Linked DNA regions of Homo sapiens: region 1 is linked to region 2. Evidence: promoter capture Hi-C in human tissues and cell types (Jung and others, 2019). All regions are on one chromosome and are shown on one strand. The core of a region is centred on a gene start or on the middle of the fragment in contact, and the rest is flanking DNA. Distances in the headings are between cores, read along the strand shown. Region 1 has its middle 17 kb from the start of TRIM29. Region 2 holds the start of POU2F3 (POU class 2 homeobox 3).

What was found. The method cuts DNA at HindIII sites, captures the fragments that hold promoters and counts their contacts. A contact is called where the count stands out against the background at its distance.
Region 1: a contact is called between a fragment that was not itself captured here and the fragment with the promoter of POU2F3 in region 2, in 2 of the 25 tissues and cell types used here (dorsolateral prefrontal cortex and hippocampus).

The regions. Positions count from the first base shown.
Region 1 is chr11:120,152,634-120,156,726 of GRCh38, reverse strand. No RefSeq gene overlaps it. Among named protein-coding and RNA genes, the nearest start is that of TRIM29, 17 kb to the right of the region's middle. The HindIII fragment of the contact is 4,875 bases long and covers 206-4,093 here.
Region 2 is chr11:120,238,125-120,242,032 of GRCh38, reverse strand. POU2F3 (POU class 2 homeobox 3) reads right to left here and starts at 1,893. Exons shown (of 13, transcript NM_014352.4): 1 at 1,662-1,893. The coding sequence starts at 1,689. The HindIII fragment of the contact is 19,243 bases long and covers 1-3,908 here.

The sequences.
Region 1 (4,093 bases), core at 1,394-3,893, 86 kb after region 2:
TTACATATACTCATAGCCAGCAGGAGGAGGACACCACATCTCATGCAGGGGTGTTGCACTTGGGAACAGAAATGAACAATCACATGGGGGTTGTACTTGTGAGCAGAGAACAACCAGAGGCTGTGGGGGCCAGGCTGTAGCACTAAGAGAATGGGGTGGCCCATGGTTCCTGCAGGAGGCTGTGATTGCCTTGTTTAACTGCACCTGGTTCTCTTTATTAAGAGGATTTGGCTAGGGGTTAGGAGCAGAGTGGAATGAGGAACTTGGGGCTAGGCTAGATGAGGCCCTCCTGTTTTCATCAGGTGTCAAGGTAGCACATAATATTGAACCTTAATTTTAGTTCTTACACCACAGAAAAGATCAATACAATTGATAAAACTCTAACCTGACTGATCAAGAAAAAAAGAGAAAAGACACAAATTACCAATATCAGGAATGAAAGCAAGGATATCACTACAGATCCTACAAACATTGAAAAAAACCTAAGGAGATATTATAAACAACTACATGCCAATAAATTCAGTGACTTAGATGATAAAATGGACATAATCTTTGAAACACAAACTATGAAGGTCATTCAATAAGAAATAATTTGAATATCTTATGTCTGTTAAAGGAATTACATTCATAGTTTTTAAAAAGTGAAACCTTTTTCATAAAGAAAACTCCAGGATCAAGTGGTTTCACGAGTGCATTCTACCCCCAGGTGTATTGGTAAATGTTTTACACCTGGCACTCTAGAAAAAACAACAACCTGTTTTGTAGCATTTGCCACTTTCCATAGTGTAAATATTCCCGCTATGGTCAATTTCATGCTACCAATGTGATGTCAATCATCATGGAGATAAAAAGAGATGTGCATATATATGCACAAATATATATAAAGATAATACCATATAAATGAAAGTCATAAATATCCTAATAGCATTGATATTAATAAAATGTAGCAAAATATTTAAGATATGATAAGTATTCATTCCATATGGATTACTTTTGCTTTTAACATAATTTATTTAATTTTTAATACTGGCTGTATTTAACAGCTGGCTTACAAAATTTCTGAGAATTTGAAAGTACATTGTCATGGGCCAGTACAAGCCATTTCTGGGATGCTAAACATTTTTAAAAAAATACCAATTCTACAAAAACTGTTGCAGAAAAGAGACGGGGAGGAAACATTTCTAAACAGAATTTTAGCAGAAAAAAAATCAGCAATATATACAAAGAATAACAAAGTGTGATCAAATGGGATTTATCCTAGGAATTCAAGGTTGGCTTAACATTCAAAAGTCAGTTTTTTTAAGTTTTAAAATCTTTATTTATTTATTTTATTTAAATAGCTTTGGGGGTACAAGTGGTTTTTACCTACATGGATGAATTCTATAGTGGTGAATTCTGAGATTTTAGTGCACCCATCACCTGAGCAGTGTAACTGTACCCAGTATGAAGTCTTTTATCCCTCACCTCGCTCCCAACCTCCCCACCCACAAATCCCCAAAGTTCATTATATCACTCTGTATGTCTTTGCATCCTCATTGCTTAGCTCCCACTTACAAGTAAGGATATACAGTATTTGGTTTTCCATTCCTGAGTCATTTCTCTTAGAATAATGGCTTCCAGTTCCATCCAAATTGCTGCAAAAGACATTATTTCTTTCCTTTTTATGGCTGAGTAGCATTCCACAGTGTATGCACATCACATTTTCTTTATCCACTCATTGGTCTATGGGCACTTAGATTGATTCCATATCTTTGCAATTGTAAATTGTGCTGCTATCAGCGTGAGTATGCCTGCATGTATGTGTGTGTCTTTTTTGTATAATGACTTCTTTTTCTCTGGGTAGTTACCCAGTAGTAGGGTTGCTGGATTGAATGGTAGATCTACTTTTAGTTTCACAAGTCAATTTATATACAACTTGAATGAACCTTGGAGACACTCTGTTGAGTAAAATAAGCAGTCGTAATAGGACAAATAGTGTATGATTCCACTTATATGAGATATTTAAAGTAGTCAAAGTCATGAAAACAGAAAGTAGAATGGTGGTTTCGTCGAGTTGGGAAGGGGGAATGGGGAGTTGTTGTTTGATGGGTATAGAGTTTTAGTTTTGCAAGATGAAAAACTTCTAGAGATCTGTTATACAACAATGTGAATGTAGTTAACACTACTGAACTGTATACTCAAAAATGATAAATGGTAAGTGTTATGTGTTTTTAACCACAATTTTTAAAAAGTCAATCTATAATTTATCATATGTGGTAGTCATAATATCTATGTCCTAATCCACAGAACTTGTGAATATACTACTTTATGTAGCAAAAGATATTTTGCAGATATGATTGTTAAGGATTTTGAGATGGGAGATTATTCTGGATTATCAGGATGGGCCCAATGTAATCACAAAGATCCTTGTACCTAAAAGAGGGAGGCAGGAGAGTCAGACAAAAAGATGTGTCATGACAGAAGCAGAGATTGGAGTGATATAAATGCTGGCTTTGAAGATGGAAAAAGTCATGAGCCAGGGAACATGTGCAGCCTCTACAAGCTGGAAAAGGCAAAGAAACGGGTTATCTTCTAGAGCCTTCAGAAAAGATGCAGCCCTGCCAACATCTTGATTTTAGCCCATTTTGGGCTTCTGACCTCCAAAACTATAAGATAATAAATTTGTGTTGTTTTAAGCCACTAAGCTTGTTACGGCAGCAATAGAAAATGAATGTATCATATAAACAGATCTAAAAAGGAAAAAAACATGATCATGTCAGTAGATTCAGGGAAAGCTTTTGACAAAATTCAACAAGACAAATTTATCAAGATTCATGATAAAATCTTAGCAAATTAGGGATACAAGGGAACTTACACAATCTGGAAAAGGGCATCTATTTAAAAATACCCTACAATTGACATTATACTTAGTAGTGAAAAATGGGATGTTTTTCCTCTCAGATTAGGAACAAAGCAAGTAAGTCTGTTATAACTATTTCTATTCGACAGTGTACTGGAGGTCCTAGCCAGTGCAAGAATTCAAGAAAAAGAAAAAAGGCACAGATGAGAAGATTCAAAATTGTTTTTATTTATAAACAATATAATTTTCTCTCTAGAAAATCTTAGGAAATCCACAAGCAAGCTAAGACACTACAGTTAATAAATGAGTTTAGCAATGTTGCAGGATATGGGTTCAATACACAAAAATTAATTATTATTATTATTATTTTTGAGAGGGAGCCTCAGTCTGTCACCCAGGCTGGAGTGCAGTGGCACAATCATGACTCACTGAAGCCTTAAGCTCCTGGGCTTAAGCAATCCTCCCACCTTAGCCTGCCACGTAGCTGTGACTACAGGCCTGTGCCACCACACCTGACTGACTTTTTTATTTTTAAATTTTTTGTAGAGACAGGGTCTTGCTACGTTACCCAGGCTGTTCTCAAATTCCTGGCCTCTAGCTGGAGTTGCCACCTTGGCCTCCTAATATGCTAGTATTACAAGTGTGAGCCACTGTGCCTGGCCTAATTGTATTTCTATATACTAGAAACTAACAATTGGAATTTAAATGGAAAATAACATTTATGATGGCATGAAAACATGAACTAGTTAAGAGTAAATTAGCAAAAATTTGTATAGTACACTAAAAACTACAAAACTGCTGGGAGAAGTTAAAGAAGATCTAAATAAATAGAGAAACATACCATGTTCATGGTATGTATTGATATTATTAAGACTTGCTATTGTTAAGCTGTCAATTCTCCCCAAATTGATCTTCAGATTTAATGTACTCTCAGTCAAAATCAGAGCAGATTTTTGAAGAATTTTGTAATCTGATCCTAAAGTTCATATGGAAATGCCATGGATCATAATAGGTACAAAAAATTATGAAAAACGAAGACCAAGCTTGGAGGACTTACTACCTGATTTTTAAGACTTACAACAAAGTAGTAGTAATTAGATAGTGTATTATGGAATAAAGTAAACATTTAGATCACTGAACAGAATAGAGAGTCCAGAAATAGATTTATATATATGTAGATAACTGATTTTTCACAAAGGTGCCAAGGTAATTCAACGGGGGAAATGATAGTTTTTTCAACAAATGGTGCTGGAA
Region 2 (3,908 bases), core at 644-3,143:
GGGTTTAGCTCAGTCTCCCCCCATGTGTCGGGAATACCTGCTCACAGGGACAGGGTGGAGAAGGTGTCTGGGCTTCTGAGAAGCATCAGCCAGGAGCTCACTCCTGGGGAAGGCATAGAGGCCAAGCCCTATGCCTCAACCTCATCCTCTGGTGTTCTCTGCTCTCTGCTATATCCTCTGAGGCCCCAGGCTGCCTCCCTGCTGGGTCCCAACTGTCCCACCCCCTCCCACTTCCACAGAATGGGAGCCTCCAGTAGACAAGGAGGTGGAAAACCCCCAGGAAGTCTGTGATCTTGGTGCTAAAAAACTTCCCATCCACTGCTAAGCCCACCTTTCTGAAGAGACTTGCTCCCATTCAAACCCTGGCCTTCTCTGCGGGCAGTGAAGGGGAGAGCACCTACCCGGGGATCTGCCCCAGGTATGCCCAGTCTAGAAACAGACTTTCCTCAGACTCTGGATGACACCCAGTTGGATGGCTTCTTCCGCCTCACCTAGCCTTTCTGGCACGTCCTGGAGAGCCACTCAGTGCCAACATCTCACTGCCAGTCTGCCTCTCACTCAGCCCTGCCAGGAAACAGCATCTGGGGAACTGGGCACTCCAGGTCCCCTCCCTCCGGGCACTCACTGACGCTTGTTTTCAGGCTGGGTAGGCCTCAGGCCTGCTCTGCTTCTTGGGGTGGGTCTGGAGCATTGCCTCCTCCCTACTCTCCCAGAAAGGAGACCAGGTAACAACATTCCCATCAACAGCCCCGAAATCCTAAAGAAAGATCACTGGGTCCTGCCCACTTTGAGAGTAAGTTGCTAGGTTAGAAATGGCCAGGTCAGGTACCGCTTTCTTCACTTGTTCTTTGCTCAGGCCCTGTGACCTCCAGAAGGCCCACCCTAACAGGAAGCCCCAAGCCAAGCCCAACCTGGCTGCCTGGCAGCTCCTGCCTTAGCCCAGCTGTGGAAGGAGGAACAGCAAGGTGAATGGAGGGGCTGGGTTCCCTCCATGCCCACCTCTCATTCATTCATTCAGGGAAGCCTGACTCCCGGCAAAGCATTTGCATCTCCTAGGTTTCCACCCCTTAGGGAAGGAAGGCATGGGACATGGAACCCAGAGGATGTGTCTGTCACCATCCCTTCTCAAACACATGGGGGCATGGCCCCTGCCCCAGGGGCACCTCTGTAATTGCCCCACCTCAGCCACTTCTCCTAAGCCCCCCAACCACCTAAATGTCCGCTTTGCCTCCATTTCACACATATGCCCGGACACCAGCACACAGCATGTGGACATACACATTTCCCTCACTTATGCACTCCCAGGTCCACACCCCTGGCTGAGTGAGTGAACCACCCATCCCTGCAACCTCCTGAGACTATGACAGTTCAGTACACCCACGTCCCATACAACTGCCACTCCCCAGACCGGGGGCTTCGAAGCCCTCCCGCCCTTCACCAGCCCCCACCCTCATTCTTTTCCAGGGTTTCTTATCCCAGATCCCCTCCCTTTAGTCCCCAAATACTGACCGGCACCCACCCCAGGACAACCCGCTATCCACACCGCCCTCTCCTGGCCGCTGGGAAACAAGCCCCCCTCCCTAACCAGAACGTTGTCCCTCTCCTTCACCCCTGCCCACGCGCAGTGACACCTGTCAGAGCTCATTCCCTCCGCCCCTCACCTGTGTGCATGGACTCCAGATTCACCATCCTGCCCCAGGCGGGGCCAAAGCCAGCGCCCCCCCAGGCCCCTCGCCTCTGCCCCAGCCGGGGCCCCTGCGAAGCCAGGGTCTCCTTCCTCCAGTTCCCGGCCGCCGCCGCCGCGGGAGCCGCTGCCGGAGCCGTCGCCGCCACTGTCGCGCGCTCCGCTGCTCCGGCCCGGGCAACACTCGGCGCCGCCAGGATTGCCACACTCCCCAGGTGAGCACGCGGCGCGGGGCGGGGGCCGCCGGCCACGCCCCCTGGCAGGAGCCCCGCGCCTGGCCCCAGGCCCATGCAAAGCAGTGATTTGCATACATGGAGCTGGGGACCTGGGGAGGGGGCCGGGGGTGCTGCCGGGGCGGGTCTCGATCCCGCGGAACACCTGCCTGCTCCAACCCAGCCTGGCAGCACCTCCTCACCGCGCCCGGAGTGGCGCCAACTCCTGGTCCTGCTCGCCCTTTTTAGGAAGCCCTGGCGGGTTCTCCAGCCTGAGCCCGAGCTTCCTTCTGGACAGATCGCGAAGTGTAAGCGCTGCAAGGAGTTGGAGTGTTTGGAGAAGTCGCGGGGGTCTGCTGGAAAGAATTCAGTTTTGGAATCTCGCCTCCCAACCGCTTACCAGCAGTGTGGCTGGGACAAGGTTCTTCACCTCCCTGAGCTCATTTAACTCACCTGTAAAACAGGACAGGTGCTAATCGGGTTCCCTATTGGGCTGAGCAGGTGACCAAGCTCACCTAGCCCCCATGGCATCCTCACAGCATTGTGGGATTTAGACGGGGTGCAGTTTATTATTAGCAGAGTTTCCAGGTGCACACAACTGCTTCCTGCTTGCCCCTCCAGTCTCCCGCCCCAGGTCCCAGGTTGCTGTGAGGCTCTACGAGATGATGGATGTGGAAGTTACCAGTGCCCAGGCTTTTGGTGACAGCCACCTTCCAGAGCGGGGAAGCGGCTTGCTCAAAGGTGCACACTTCCCTAGTGACAGAGCCTGGCTGGAATCAGGTCTCTGGACTCCCACTCCAGTGCTCTTTGCAGCACCCATCATAGGCTCACCCCTTTCTCTTCGTCTCTTCAAGTCCCAGTAAGTGGTCTGTCACCACAGGATGGCCTGCATGGAAGCCCAGAAAGCTGTGTGCAGACAGGAGGGCAGGGCCTCGCTTTCCTTCCCAGACAGGACTCCTCATGAACATGTCTTCTCCTTAGTCCCATGGGCTACTTTCTGAGCACAGAACAGGTTTTGGGCTTTCCTGCCTCTACACCTTGTTTACAGTGTCCTTTCCCCCTGGCACGCCCATCCCACCGTGCACTCCAGTCATGCCCACGATAACACCCAGCATTTCGTGTGCCTTCACTGTGTATCAAGCACTGGGGTGACCAACACTTGAAAGGCATCTTTCGTGCCTTTAGTTCTTGTTTAGTCCTCAAAACCTGTACATTGTACTATGATTATTGCCATTTTATAGATGGGGAAAATGAGGCTTAGAGAGTTTAAGTTCCGTGTTCTTTTTTTTTTTTTTTTTTTTTTTTTTTTAGACAGAGTCTTGCTCTGTTGCCAGGCTGGAGTGCAGTGGTGCAATCTCGGCTCACTGCAACCTCCACCTCCTGGGTTCAAGCGATTCTCCTCAGCCTCCTGAGTGGCTGAGACTATAAGCACGTGCCACTACACCCAGCTAATTTTTGTGTTTTTAGGAGAGACAGGGTTTCACCACGTTGCCAGGATGGTCTCGATCTCCTGACCTCGTGATCCACCCGCCTCAGCCTCCCAAAGTGCTGGGATGACATGTGTGAGCCACCACGCCCAGCCTAAGTTCCATGTTCTTAACAGCCTTCGTGGCAGGTTCTGAGGGCCTTTTCTTAGCTTACCCCCTGGTTGGTAACTGATCAATTGCTTCATTCTAGTGCCAGCACCCCAGCACCTAGAACAGGGCTGGGCACACAACAGGTATCAGAAAGTGTTCTGTGGGTGCTACAGTGGCCCCAGAGGAACAGGAAGCACTTAATTGCTTCTTCAGGTCCACATACACCACCCTCCCCAGTCACATGGACCTCCCTTCCCCACGCTCCCGAAAAGAAGGGAGGAGAGAAACTTCTTCTTGCTTCTTTTTCTTTTTCTTTTTTGAGATGGAGTTTCTACCTTGTTGCCCAGGCTGGAGTGCAATGGCATCATCTCGGCTCACGGCAATCTCCGCCTCCCAGGTTCAAGCGATTCTCCTGCCTCAGCCTCCCGAGTAGCT